Regions from separate parts of the Homo sapiens genome. Here regions 1, 2, 3 and 4 are each linked to region 5. The links are contacts of gene promoters, found by promoter capture Hi-C in blood cells and fetal thymus (Javierre and others, 2016). All regions are on one chromosome and are shown on one strand. Each heading gives the region's core, a stretch centred on a gene start or on the middle of the fragment in contact. The rest is flanking DNA. Distances are from core to core; before and after follow the strand shown.

Region 1 (2,794 bases), core at 154-2,653, 220 kb before region 5:
TGGGGTAGGGCTGCAGTATTCGCAGGGGTGAGGATGGAGGTGCTGAATGGGCTCAGAAGTTGTGTGGTGACAAATGGCCTAAACTAGGAGATCATGGGGGGCTCTCCCCTCTTCTCTCTATGCAACCCTGCAGAGCCCTTGAAACAAGAAGAAGCACAGCTTTATTTCTCTGGTCTAATTCTTTCTCTCCCTCCCTGGGCCATGAGTGGAGCATATTATAAACCTCTCTGTTTGAGATCAACATTCCTATTTACCTGGCAATCATGTATAATAAGACTCTAAAAGCATTTGCTGGTAAGGTTTCTAAATAAAACAGACTAAACGAAGAGGAAAGCAAATGAGGTAGCAGGATGGCATCTGGAAATCCTGCCCCTGTGCACTCCTAGCTCCTACCAAGTCTGCTGCATCAGTCCCTTCGCCGGGCCACAGAGAACATCTCTGGGTCAACTGGGCAGTCGTGGAAGTGGCTCTCAGCTGCCTGCTGAGCCTTCTCCAACTTCTCCAAATCCAAGCCTGTCTCCTGCAGGGGCTCCTGCAGAAATTCCTCTCTAGGGGCAGTGTGGAGAACCTCTTGTCCCCCACCATGTAGACACTGGTCTCAAAGCCTCTGCTTGCAGCATACGGTCCCTGGGTTGAAGCAGGGTCCCAAGTTGGCACAAGGTGCCTTGGCAGGTACCCAGGGTGGGTGGGGGGGCAGCCTGAAACCACAGGGAGAAAACGAGGCAGTCGGCCAGGGGCAGGACTGCAGGTTTCAGAGGCCATTCTTTCCAAATGTCACATGTAAGCACATTTGAGTCGCTTTCCTTAAACACTCCTCCTTTTCAGCCCACTTCTCTCTGGAAAGAAGGAAATGGAAAGAGTGGCCAGCTGGGTCAAGCTTACCTCATGGGACATATAGATCACTCCTGGTCATTTTCTGCATCTCATACACACACTTGCAGGATAACAGAATATTCTAACCCTAATCTTAACTGTAACCCTACCCCTAACATATACACAACTCACAGGATATCAGAATATTCAAATCCTAACCCTAACCATAACCATAACCCCTATACACTCACAAGATATCAGAATATTCTAACCCTAACCCTAAACCCATACACACACTCGCAAGATATCAGAATATTCTAACACAAAACCTAACCATAACCCTAACCCCAAGCCATACACACACTCACAGAATCTCAGAATATCAGAATCAGGTCACTCCTTTTACAGATGAAGACACTGAGTCCTGGAGATGCAGTCATGACATCAGCTATTGGCACGGGCAAGCCTAGGGACCGCCAACCCTGCAGTCAGTGCTCTTTCCACTTGCCGGCTGTCTCTGCAATGTGCTTCTGACAATCAGCCCATTCTTTCTCTGCCTGGTCCATGACTTAAAACAAGTCAGCCAAGTGCAAAGGGAAATGGAAAGTCTGCCTGGAACCAGCAGAGCAAAACTATTAATACAAAGTGAGCTTGGTAGATGTTGTTGAGGACATCCAGTACCTCCATCATCTTTCCCTTCCAGTGGCTCCTGGCTACACACTCCACTCAGTTGTCACATTCTCTTCTTAAATACCTAGTATAGGCTATGAGGCTCATTCATACTGAGGTATGAATAAGGACTAGCACTTAAAGGGTTACTCTTTACAGCTCTTCAATAGTGTATTACAAATGTTATTGTCTTAAGCAAAATGAAGAAGGACCTAATGAACAACTTCAACCTTCTTACTTAACTAGGATGTGGGGTATTTTGGGAGTGAAGATGCTATGGAGAACTTTCCTGGTGCCTGAAATTACGCAAGGTAAGTAAATTCTATTCTGCCTCAAAGTTAGATTGGTCTTAATTCCATTCCCAACTCCAATCCCAGCGATGGCCTTCTCTGTGTTTCCCTGTTCCCAGCAGTGAGAGGTCACCTCAGGAGACCCACAGAAAGCTTCCACAGGTTTAGGGTCAAAAGTCTGGAGGTTGCAATTGGAACAACAGGAACACTGACCAGTCAGAACGGTTGCCTGCCATCAAAAGCCAGCTGACTGTCATCCTGCCTGTTATGCATATGCTTGGGCTCAGATCTTGGCATCTGGGACAGTTTCTTTCTGGCTCCAGGCTTGTCTCTAGCCATCTACTTTGGTTCCCTCCTTGGGGCTTTATAGAACTCACTCTTCCTTTCTTCTTCCTGCAGTTCCACTGACATCCTTCTTTCTTAGTCTCCATCTTTCTTGCCATTTCTACATGAGCCCCACAGAAAATTCTTAGTTCAGAGAGCCACGTGAAGCTCTGGCATCCTCAAGGTGCAAAAACAAACACCGAACTCCTTGCCTAATCCCTTCAAGCTCACATACATATTTTACCACTGGAGACCAGTCAAATGACTGCAGCCTCTGTCTCTGCTACCTGTTCAGCTCCAGGACATTCTTGTCCATGTAGTTGGAGGCAATGGTCTCCTAGAAAGACTCACAGGCAGAGAGGAGCTGATAATGGTGGCCTCAGGGCCAATGCCAATTAGTCACTTTCCTATCAGCCCACCTGTTTTAGAACAAGAATATTTCTAAATCGTCAGTATCGAAGCATGGCTCTGAGGTCCACCTTTCCCAAAAGGTTCTACTTTCTCTAGACTTCTTAGAGAGACACGTTTGTTTGGGGTGTAGAGAGTCAACCACTTGGGAATGCAGACTCTAAGATTTGGAATTTTATCTGCACTAACAGCCTTAGACATGACTGAGCACAGTCCCCAGCACTGAGCAGGGGTAGGAGGGGAGTGTTAGGAGCAGGAAGGCACTGAGGGGTGTGGCAGCAACTAGTAGA
Region 2 (2,881 bases), core at 227-2,726, 170 kb before region 5:
AGGATCTTCACATCCCAGCCATCCTCTTGCCCTCACGTGGCTTTTTACTGCAGACTCCCAACTGAACAGGAACAAGAGTACAAAACCTGGCCTCAAGTCCTGGCTCAGTGACTAACTCGCTGTGCACTCCTGGGTGGGTTACTAGACCTTTCTGGGCCTCAGTTTCCTCAACAGTAAAATGAAGAGGGATATAAGTGATCCTTAAAGGGTTTTTCTCCACTCTAATATTCAACAATTCTATTGAAGAGGGTGCTGGCAGGTTGAATGGTCCTTTCTCCCACTGAGATGGACGTCAGCATTTTCTCTTTCAAAGTCAGACTTCACAGCCTTCTTTTAGCTAAAGAGAATCTCTTTAACTAAAAGGAACCACATTCTTAGGCTGACAGAGGGACAGTCACAGACAAGGCAAAGAAAGGATCCAACATTGACTGGGCACCTGCTGGGTGCCAATCTAGGTTCAACCTTTCTCAAGCAGCACTGTGAGATGGGGATTTTTAGGAAGATGGGAAAATTTCACAGGACTTGAGAGAACCTCTAGGTCCCTTTTCTAGGGGACTACCAGTTAGCAGCTTAAGACCTCCTAGAACTGGCTGAACACTCACAGAGGCAATTATTGAGTAGCTGGGTCTGAGAGTACCTGAAGCCTCTCTGTGCCAGGTGAGGGCTGAGCAGTTGGGGTGGGGAATATGGAGGGGGAGCTTTCTCTCCCAAGCCCCCAGCAGCAGAATGATAGAGAAGACCCCCAAGAAAGCCCATATAGAGAGCAAGTCAGAGAACCAGACCCTCTGAATCTAGCAGTTTCATTACAAGAGCACAGTGTCCAACACATAGTAGGCATTTACATTCTGGCTGTGTGTCCAGAGCTTCACGGGAGGCACGGAGTTTCCACGTGAAGGTAAGACCCAATTTCCTTGTCTGAACAATAAGTTATCCCCAGGACTCTTTCATCTCCAGTATACTTCACATGTAAAAGATGCTTTCTATAGATGGTCACTCTCTCTAGTTTCAGACATTCCCAAAGTCATCCTGAGGCCCCTGCAGAGAAACTGCAGCCCAGGAGTAGGTTCTCTGGGGGAAAAAAACCCAAAAACCTCAGCTAGGCTCTCATGTAAAATTTCCAGTAAACCCCAATGTATTCCAGAGATAGGGAGGTGGAGGCAGAGGCAGGAGGCAGGAGGAGACCCAGACAGAAAAGAGAGAGAGACAGAGGCAAGACAAAGGCCCAGGGAGACAGAATGGAGTGGGGAGGGGAGCAGGGGTTGGGCGAGACAGAAATTCAAAATAAAACGAAATACTGATTGTTTCAGCGCCATTTAAATATCTCCCAAACACTGGGCAATGAAAAGAAAAACTACCCCATATAAATAAGCAAAACAAAATAACAAAAAAGGAGAGGATGTATTCATTTTACTGACATTTTAATGGCTCCTCTCCTTCCCGCCCCCCCCCCACAGAAGATGATTACAAATTAAGCAGCATTTAAATGCTTTTTACTGTCAACAATTAAAAGGAGGGCTGTGGGCCTGAGAGTGTGGTGGCCATTCATTCCCACGGTAACCAGGCTATCAATATCAGAGACACCATGCGGCCTTCCCGTACTGTACGGCACACAATAGCCAAAAAGGGAAAAGTGCAGACAGATACTGTTAATTCTGCAGGACATTCAGAAGCAAATTAAAATATAAAAAAGCTCCCAGAGCATACATAGATACCAAGAATGAGGGCAGGGCAGGTCGAGCTCATGGAGTTGGTCTTAGCAACGGCAGAATGTACGCACAGCCTGATTACACCTGATTCAGGGCTCCTTGCGTTTGTTTCATGTACCTGCATGTGTGTGCATGTGTGTGTTGCACATGCACGTGCACATTACAGGAAGGACCAAGGACAGAGGTTGTTTTGCCTTCCTAGGGTCAGAGGAATAAACAATAAATCGAGCCCAGGAGCTCTACGTCAGACCCAGAACCAGCCAGGGAGTAGAAAGAGGACACACCCACTGCCCCAACCTGGGCTTCAACCGAGAGGGCGGGACCACCAACGTTCACCCTTCCAACACCTGCCCCACGGCCTTCTCCGCTGGGCCACAGGTAGAAATCAGGTGATTCTGATTTCACTGCGTTCAGAGGAAGGGATTTCATCATTCCAGGTGAACCAAAGGAACACATTTGATTTTTCAGAAATTGACTCTTTTTTCACAATTCAAACTATCATTACCAATTCATGCCCAACCCCTGCCTGCCCCGGCCCAATACCACCCATCTTCACATCCTTCTAAAAAGCTAAAACCCAGTCTGTGTTAGGTCCTGGTAAATTCTGTTGCCAGAACTCTCTTTTAGCTAACTCAATATAGTTTCTAAGCATCCATGTCATCACAGGTATCTTTGAAAATAATGGAATAATGAAAAGCCAATTCCAGAATAAAGAGGAAGAAAAGAAAAGGGTTAAAAAGATAAAGGAGCAGAGAACGTAGCTACGAATTTCCTTTCCAGTCCTTCAGAGAAGGAGACAGAAATCACAGAAAGTGAGAGTGGGCTACCAGGTAGAGGGTGAGAGGCTGGATTTAGAAGCAGCCGGGTATACTTCTGTACCGTAAAGTTTAATATGCAGGAGGGATGACAGAGAAATAAAAGAGACACGTCCCCTTTAAAAGGAAATATAATTTACAGTGTGCAGCCAGGCGGCCCATAGTTTCAATCTCGTTTACTATAGAGAAAACTCTGCTAGCTGTTCTCTATCCCACAAATCCGATTTAATCAGACAAGCCAGCCAGCGTGGCTTGGAGTAAAAACGGATAATTAGTAAACAGAGAGCTACTCCAGTGCTTCATTGGCATTCGAGTTGGGCTACTGTGTCGCATTTAAAATGCAGTCTGATGAAGTTTACA
Region 3 (2,700 bases), core at 201-2,700, 150 kb before region 5:
GATGTCCAGACCATCCAGTGATGAAGGTTGAGGGAGGGGTGCCGGCATTTTCTACCAAGCAGAAAACATAGAGACTTCCTCTGCAGATTTTTAGAAAAGGGACCCACAGCAATTCCTCCGGCACACGTGAGCACGGACTGCCTGCTCCGAGGCAGGCGATGGGGGATGGGGGGATAAGCCAGGTGGTCCCTCAGGGATGCTTCCAGCCCAAGGAATTTAAGGGTGGTTCCCAAGTCTCAAACATCCAGGACTGAACGACAGCAAAGGTATCATTACATTTATCTTCACTTGGCATCCAAAGCAGCTTCGGGAAGCAACCTGGCATGCTCAAAGGAGCACTAGGAAATACAGAGAATCAGAGCCCAGTGCCTGACTCCGCAACTGTGTAGCTGTGTGACTCTATAGCGAAGTCTTTTCACCTGTCAAGGCTCAGTTTCTTCATCTATAACAGGAGAAAATTGGAGCAGAGAATCCCCAAGTCCCTTTCTAAATTTGTGTGGCTATGTTAAAGGAGAAGAATGACCTCTTCCCTTCCTGCTTTCCCAAGCAGGGTCCACACCAGACAGGAGTGGACAAGAACTCCAGGAAACTTTGAAAATGCCTGGGGGAGGGGGAGAGGCACAACAAAGCCCCTTACTTTCTTTCTTTCTTTCTTTCAAAGTCACTCCCAGCTTCTTGGGACACAAAAGTATCTGTTAAGGTAAGTTAAACCTTCTCAAGATGAATTTTCCTGCGACTTTTAATTAAAAGTTCTTTAGAATTTAAAGAACACTATTCAGAAAAGGCTGAAAAAAAAATTTCATTGACACTCCCCCCTCCCCATCCCCCCTTTCCCAAGGAAAAGAAAAAGCTGTTTTGTGCACAGCTCGCCCGGTCCACACTGTACAAAAGGAGGTGGGCTGGCGGCAAGACACATGAGATGACCCTTTGACCCCAGACCGCTGACAAGTCCTCAATGGCATAAATACCAGATAATCAATCACATGCCAGGAGGGCGAGTCCCCCTGCCCTCGCCCCAGCGTTGGGGTTTATGAGAGATACACTGTAAATAGACACTGGCTTCTTAAAAGAGGCCCCCCTCAGCATTCCAGGGGCCGGCCATAATCCCGAACCAGGCCTGGCCAGATCCTTGACCATCTCGTTTTACAGCTTTCATCGCGAGCTTATAAAGCGCTCTGCCCTCCCAATCCCCCACTGCAAGCTGGCCTTCCTGGTATGAAATGAAGTCAAACTCCCCACTGCGAACGCAAACGGGGACTCTGAAAATCACTGCAAAGAAGGTGAGGGCAGAGGACAAGCAGGAAATGGGGCGGGTCGCCAATAACACCCCAATGCGGGGGAGGGGGAAGGGAGCCAACCAGGACCTGGGGAAGTGACGAAGAATCAATAAGGATGATACTGATGACAATGGTAACAACTGTGGTAACAGTAGTTAGCACTGGCTCAACACTTAGTAAGCACCAAACCCCACAGTAAGCACTTCATGTGTATCCTGTTATCTATCCTCAAAAATAACTCTAGGAGGCGGGCACTATTATTGCTATGCCCATTTTACAGATAAGGAAGGTAGGTGGGGGGCTCAGAGTTCAAATAATTTGTCCAAGGCCACAGTGACAGTTAATGACAGGGAAGATGAGATTTAAACCCACAGAAATGGCTCAGGTCTAGATATACCTCCACCCCACACCACCAAGTCTATGGATTTCTGCCTGGAAGGAGAAGAAGGTAGAAATCAATCTGCACTTTTAGGTCACTCACTTGGCTCATGCCTGTAATCCCAGCACTCTGGGAGGCCAAGGAGGGTGGATGAACTGAGGTCAGGAGTTTGAGACCAGCCTGGCCAAAATGGTGAAACCACTGTCTCTACTAAAAATAGAAAAATTAGCTAGGGGTGGTGGTGCACACCTGTAATAATCCCAGCTACTCGGGAGGCTGAGGCAGGAGAATCGCTTGAACCCAGGAGGCGGAGGTTGCAGTGAGCCGAGATCAAGACACTGCACTCCAGCCTGGCGACAGAGTGAGACTCCATCTTTAAAACAAAACAAAAAAAAAATCAACATATCATCTGAATAGTTAAATCTCCAAGACAGCCAGAAACTAGGCTAGTTTCAGAGGAGAAAGAGTTTTTACATCCAACTCACAAATTTTGAACCCCACTGTGGTATAAGATTCTCATCTCTGTCCTTTAACCCACCTTAGACCCCAAGAGCCCTGGCAGTGAACACCAGGCCTGGGATGTCTCTAAGGTAATGATGGCCTTCCAAAATTTTGCTCTTGCTCTGGGAAGTTTACCAAGATTCTAAACTAGCCCCGGCAAACAGGGAAGTGGGGGTGAGGAGAAGAAGACAGACGCTCTTGGTAAATAATTTTGATAATGCTTTTGTTTCAGGGTCAAAGGTTAAATATGGCCACACTAATCCGCTTCTTCCAAAATTAAAGCACAAGGGAGATTTTTCTGTAGCTTAGCAAGAGGGCTTTTTCTCATTGCTGGGGAAATGGTACTGATCCCGCCCACTGAACGGGGATGCTCGGCTGTTGCAGACAGAGATTTGTGCTAATTTGGACAGAACATCCCAGCTCCTGGCTGCAGGGTTAGAGTTATTTATTATTAAGACCAAAGTGAAAGAAATGCAAGGTGATTCTTAAAAATTTTAATAGTCCCTCTGTCCCACCCCACCGGCTTTTGAATAATGCTTCCTG
Region 4 (2,829 bases), core at 228-2,727, 180 kb after region 5:
GCCAATCTGCCAGTTAATCTGCCAGGGGAAGCGGATCCCTGTATCTCCAGGTGGTGGAAGTTGCAGGAGTCCTAGTTCAGGCCTCAGAGAGTAATCTGGCCTCTCCTGGGAGCTGCACCTGACCTGTACCTGTTTCCTTTTGTCAAAAACTGCGCCCGCATGCAGACTAGGGAGGCCTGCAGGTGAAACATAACAATCCCAGCGACAACAATGCCAGGAGTATAGGAAAGGCCACCGTCCATGTTAAATTCACACTTAAAAGTGTAGCTTGAGAGTCAGACCAGACCAGGGCAAGGGTGTAGGTGCTACTCTTAAAAGACGCGCTTCCACACTCAGCCTCTACGCAGATTTGGGACACCCAGCAGCCTGTCAAGTGGGTTTGCCATCATAACACATTTGTATCTTAAATGTGAAACATGGTTCAGTAATCACAATTCCCACACAGTTGTTGAAAATACAATTCAGGCCTGGCGCGGTGGCTCACGCCTATAATCCCAGCATTATGGAAGGCCGAGACGGGCGGATCACCTGAGGTCAGGAATTCGAGGCCAGCCTGGGCAACATGGTGAAACCCTGGGTGTGGTACAGCGTGCCTGTAATCCCAGCTACTCAGGAGAATCGCTTGAACCCAGGAGGCGGAAGTTGCAGTGAGCCGAGACCGTGCGGCTGCACTCCAGCTTGAGGGGACAGAGTGAGACTCCGTCTCAAAAAAAAAGAAAAAAAAAAAAACAAACCGAAACCAACCAAACAAAAAACAATTCAATAGGAGCACCTGGTCTTTTAACATGAAATCGTAAATATCTGGCTCAAACGTAACAAAGTAACACAAAATTTTAGTTTGAACTTCTGAAAATCGAAAATGGAAAAACTGCAATTTTCCTTATCATGCCCAGGTTAAGAGCATCAGGGTTAAGGGCACCAAGCGGGACACCCATGAACGGAGGCTTTGGTCCGTTTGGTTAGCTTTAGACAAGCGACTGCATTCATCCTCCTTCTCTCCTTAAAGATGGTGAACACTTCTTCATGTCATTGGAGTTGGAAATGGCTACAAAGCCTGATGGGAAATCCTTTATTCCACGGTCATTCGGCAGTTTCCCACGGCGGGGGAACAGTTTTAACTCGCCCGTGGGGAGGGTGGAGCCGGAGGTCAGTCCTACAAATGAGGTTTTGAGGGCAGAGAGCGGAGAAGACTCAGGAACGCGGCTCCCAGGATTCGCAAACCCAGTTCCCGGACACTGGCAGCGCGGCCCGCAGCCTCCACCGGCTGTGAAGCTGACCAACAGCGACAGGCGGGGCCGGGATCACGTGACCGACGTCTGGTCAGCCGGGCGTGCGCGGGAGCACGCAGAACTGTTCGGCCCCGGGCCGCGCGCCTTGCGTGCGCGCGCATGCCGGGGGCGGGGCATGTGGGCCAAGCCTCCGGCGCGCGCTGCGGGCGGGGGCGGGACGGAGCGGGGTGGAGGGCGGGGGCGGGGCCTAGTCCTGAGAGGCTGGGCCGGCGGCGGCTGCGGCGGGAGACCGGTGACCCGCGGCTGGGCGCCTCGGCCATGACTGCGGAGCTGCAGCAGGACGACGCGGCCGGCGCGGCAGACGGCCACGGCTCGGTGGGCTCCGCGGCGGCGAGCGGGAGCTGGGGGCGGGCTCCAGGCCCTGAGGGGAGCGTGCGGGGCCTGCAGGGCTGCGGGTTGCGGGCTGCGGAGGGCGCCCCGGCCGGGCGGGACAGGGGGTGCGCCCGCCAGCGTGGGTGAGAAGGCCAAGGGCTCTGCGGGGCTCGGGCCGCGGAGATTGAGGACTGCATCTTCGCGTCCGTGGGCGAGCTGAAGTTGTAGGGGGATTTCCAGATTTTGGAAAACCAAATATAAAGGGCTGGACGTGGGGTTCTCCGCCGCAGGGATCAGTAAGGTGAGCCCTCCTGGGCCCCGTCCGGGGTGAGAAACTTCCGAAAGCGGCAGCGTTGGTTGGTTTTGTTTTGCTTTGACTTTTAAATCAGTTTTATGGCGGCGTTTTTAAAAGGTTAAAGCAGACCGAAGTTATCTCACTTAAAGTCCGGAATTAATCACCGTCTTCTATAAGACCAGGGGTCCCAGTTACCACCACTTCCCTCCCTCCCAACCCGGCTTTAAAAACAAAACAGCGCAGCCTCCCCAATTATTGCCTTCATCGCTCTAGATTTTTAAGGAGGGGGAGGAGCTGCGTGATGAATAGAAAGTCTACTGATGATGATCTCCTGTTCCCAATGTCTAAGAAGATTGAAATCAATATAAGGACTTCTGATCTAAGAATCTGGTGAGAGTGAAAGAACCCTGGTTTGAGAGAAAAGCTAATGTCTGTATGAAGAAACTTGGGAAGAGGGCAATTTGAGCATGTCTTCTAGTGTTACTTCGGAATGTTATAACTTAACACCACCTCCTCACCCCTCAAGTACTGCACTTTTTCAAGAGAAAACGGGAAATCTGTGCCAGTTGTTCAAATACGAGTTTGGAGATGAGAAACTATATTTGTCGTACAAAGCTGGCAGACAGATACCCTCAGGTGAGAATCCTTTTATACCTTTTTACTCTTTTGTCTGGAAGGCCAGTAGTATTTAGCATGGAGACACTTTTTTTTTTTTTTTTTTTTTTTTTTCGACAGAGTCTCCCTCTGTTGCCTAGGCTGGAGTGCTGTGGCGCGATGTCGGCTCACTGCATCCTCCGCCTCACCCTCCTGAGTAGCTGGTATTACAGGTGCTTGCCACCGGCCCGGCTAATTTTTGTATTTTTAGTAGAGTCGGGGTTTCACCATATTGGTCAGGCTGGTCTCAAACTCCCGACTTAAGGTGATTCGCCCGCC
Region 5 (2,892 bases), core at 110-2,609:
CCTGAAAGAAGGAGAGCTGAGCTAGGGACGAGGGAAAGCGAAAGAGACGGGGAGGAACGGCGACAGTCCGGGCGGGCTGGACTCCGCGGCGAGAGCGGCAGGGGAGGCGGACCCGCCCCGCGGCGAAGGGGAAGCACAAAAGCCCCGCAGCGAGTTGTGGGAGGAAAGGCGAGAAGGGGTCTGCCCGCCCTCCCTCTCCGACCCAGGGCCGTGACCCCCTGGGAGCGACCGGCTGGGTCCCAGGCCTCTGGCCAGCGGCGCCAGCGGCCAGCGCGCCCGGCCCAAGCACGGTGCGAGCGTCTCGGGGAGGCGGCGAGCGAGTCGGTGCGGAGCGCTCCGTGCGTCCGGGTGGTTCCGCGGGCCGGCGGGACCGTGCGCATTTCAAGCGCGTGCGGGAGTGTGCGAGGCGCTGTGCGAGCTAGCGGCGGGCGCGCCAGGGTGGGAAAGGCATCCCGAACGCATCAGGTGCAGAGACCGGCACCCACCGAGAGCGGCCGGGAGCGCACGGCGAGCTCCGGTGTCACCGCCGGTCCCGCCGAGAGCCGAGGAGGGCCCGCAGCGCTGCAGACCCTCTGGAGCTTCCCTCCCTCCCCTGCAAAAGGGGGGTGGGGATCAAGTCCAATCAAGAAAAAGCCCACCACGTTTTCTCAAAGAGAAACAAAACGTAAGCAGTCCCAGTCCTGCTCCCCTCCGCCCCCAGATCTACTCGTCAGCTCCTCCGATTCTAGCTTCCCAGCCGGCCGGCGAATAAACACACAAATAAATAAACCACAACCTTATCTTGCGCCCGCGCACCGGTCCGCATACATAAGAGCACCCACGGGCTCTGTTGCTCCGCCAGCCCCTGGCGGTACAAAGCCTCCGGATCCCCGACCCCTCTGCTCACGCCCTCAGCCCCCGCACACCGCTACGCCCCCCACCTCTCACCCCGACCGTGCCCTGAAGAGGAAGGGCTGGGGAGGCAGCTGCGCCCAGGCTGACAGCCGGGGCTCCCCCTTCTAGCCGACCCCCAACCGGTGGCGGCGACGGCTGCAGCGGCAGGAAGGGAACACGCCAAATAAAAAAGGCACAAGCCCAGCGGCCGAGTGGCCGAAGCGAGCGCGCGCCCCCCAGACCTCTCCAGCCCCGGGAAGCCCCGGCGCGCGGCGCTCGCTGGGCGGTGCGCCTCTTCCCGGCCCCTCACTCACCGCAGCCGAGCCGGGCACTGTGGGGTGGGTGTGCGTGCCTGTCGGGGGGTGTGTGCCTGTGTCGGGGAGGGGTGTTGCTGGGGAACTGTTGCTCTCCGTATCACGGCGGCAGCGACAGCATCGCCCGGCAGTTCGCAGTACCCGCTCTCATCGCCCTCAACTCCTCTCTGCTGCGAGGTTAGCAAATCACCACCGGCTGCTGCGCCTCCGCCGCGTCCCACGTCAACGCCGAGCCCCCTCCCCTGCAAGGCCCCGGCGCCTCTCCATCTTTAGTGCTGGCGGCCGAGCCCGGCTCCCTGCCCACAGCTGCCCCCCTTCCCTCCCCCCTCCCGCGCCGTCCCCGGGCTCAGCCCGCCCACCACCCCGCACTGGCCGAGCCCGCGCGCGCTCCCCGCCCCACCCCTCCTTTCCCCTCCCCTCCCTTCCCCTCCCTTCCCCGCGCTCCGCGCTCCGGGCTTCGCCTGACATCTAGCTGCTGCTGGGGCGCCGGCGGCCGCCTCTCACCGGCCGAGCGGAGAGGAAGGAAGGAGCCAGAGGACAGGAGTGCATGGGGACTCAGAATCCTTAATAGGGGAACTGAGGGTGAAGGGCGCGCAGCAGCCCCCACCTACTCCCAAGATTTTAATTTGCACTGGATACGGGTTTTGTCCCCCCCTCCCCGCACCCCGGTGCTCAAGCACGCAGTTTTGTCTCCTCTTCCAATGTTTGCCCCAATTCAGTGCGTGTCATCTCGCCTTTAACTTTTTTCTCATGGCTCGGGGCTGCAGTCCCCCTGACATCTGTTTTAAAAGGCCGCTTTCCTAGCCCAAACCCGGCCCTCTCATCCTCCTGGTTACTGCGCGCCTCCCGGCTTGAGCATCCGGATTTCAATAAGTCTCCCGAGGCAGAGTTCGCGGGCGCTAGTGAACCAGGTGCCAGAAGGTCCGCGGGGATCTATTGTCGAAGCGAGACACCCGTTTTTAGCTGTCGCGATTGCTGGAGGCCAAGGTCGAGTCCTGGGAGAAACTTTTCTCTCTCCCAAACCTTGGACAGCCTCTCGGCTCTGCCCTCATCCTACCCCCCCGCCCCCCAGCAATCTGGGTGGAAACAGTTCCCGAGAACTGCGCCCAGCTCAGTGCACAGTCTTCAGGGGGCAGGGGGAAGCTTGGACAACCTCTGGGCCCCTCAAAAGTGTGTCCTCCTTCAGCTGGCCGCCCTACTTCAGAGGGTAGAGCAGCCAAAGAAAATGTACTCTTCCTCTGACTGCAGAAAGCTGCCCTCTCCCCTTTTCCCTGGAGCTGAGCGAAGGTAGGGTGCCAGAGGCGGGAAGCGCTCTTCGGGCACGGGCTGTGGATTCTGACCGAAGCCCAGGAGGTTGGGGTGGGAGGTGGGGGTGGCCGAGAGCGCCATCCAGGGTTCTCAGGCCAGTCAGCCCTCGAGGTCACGCGGTTTTAGCAATGCGGAGCTTATGTCACCAAGGCCTGAGTCTGCATGTTCTGTCCGTGACTCACGGGTGGGCCAGAGGTTTTCCGCAGGACTCACCTAGAATCACACCTCCATGCGTGCCTCTGGCACTGCCCCAGACCCAGTCCCATGAACTGTAGGGTCATGGAAGGTGGCAGAAATCTGTATCTGTTCGCTGAAGGCCAGGCGGTAGAGTTTACACATCGGAACTGATCCGGGTTCACAAGAGCCGCTCATGAGGCAGCCCCAAAGACGGGTCATT

Evidence for each region. The method cuts DNA at HindIII sites, captures the fragments that hold promoters and counts their contacts. A CHiCAGO score of 5 or more calls a contact.
Region 1: a contact is called between a fragment that was not itself captured here and the fragment with the promoter of ZBTB16 in region 5, in 1 of 17 cell types (total CD4 T cells). The highest score is 5.5, in total CD4 T cells.
Region 2: a fragment that was not itself captured here is called in contact with the fragment with the promoter of ZBTB16 in region 5 in 5 of 17 cell types (monocytes, activated CD4 T cells, erythroblasts and 2 more); the score reaches 7.1 in monocytes.
Region 3: a fragment that was not itself captured here is called in contact with the fragment with the promoter of ZBTB16 in region 5 in 6 of 17 cell types (megakaryocytes, total B cells, erythroblasts and 3 more); the score reaches 13.7 in megakaryocytes.
Region 4: the fragment with the promoter of USP28 here is called in contact with the fragment with the promoter of ZBTB16 in region 5 in 3 of 17 cell types (total B cells, erythroblasts and naive CD8 T cells); the score reaches 10.8 in total B cells.

The regions. Positions count from the first base shown.
Region 1 is chr11:114,274,008-114,276,801 of GRCh38, reverse strand. It overlaps a transcript of NNMT not described here. Among named protein-coding and RNA genes, the nearest start is that of NNMT, 21 kb to the left of the region's middle. The HindIII fragment of the contact is 1,048 bases long and covers 880-1,927 here.
Region 2 is chr11:114,229,201-114,232,081 of GRCh38, reverse strand. All of the region lies in intron 4 of ZBTB16 (zinc finger and BTB domain containing 16), which reads right to left. Among named protein-coding and RNA genes, the nearest start is that of NNMT, 66 kb to the left of the region's middle. The HindIII fragment of the contact is 9,057 bases long and covers 1-2,881 here.
Region 3 is chr11:114,210,269-114,212,968 of GRCh38, reverse strand. The region is part of intron 4 of ZBTB16 (zinc finger and BTB domain containing 16); the gene reads right to left. Among named protein-coding and RNA genes, the nearest start is that of NNMT, 85 kb to the left of the region's middle. RefSeq lists an enhancer at 1-453. The HindIII fragment of the contact is 3,018 bases long and covers 1-2,700 here.
Region 4 is chr11:113,874,220-113,877,048 of GRCh38, reverse strand. USP28 (ubiquitin specific peptidase 28) reads left to right here and starts at 1,477. Exons shown (of 26, transcript NM_001346252.4): 1 at 1,477-1,604. The coding sequence starts at 1,548. RefSeq lists enhancers at 257-918, 969-1,218, 1,208-1,502 and silencers at 1,239-1,398, 1,419-1,778. The HindIII fragment of the contact is 13,869 bases long and covers 1-2,829 here.
Region 5 is chr11:114,058,178-114,061,069 of GRCh38, reverse strand. ZBTB16 (zinc finger and BTB domain containing 16) reads right to left here and starts at 1,359. Exons shown (of 7, transcript NM_006006.6): 1 at 1,188-1,359. RefSeq lists a silencer at 1,509-1,803. The HindIII fragment of the contact is 2,602 bases long and covers 1-2,332 here.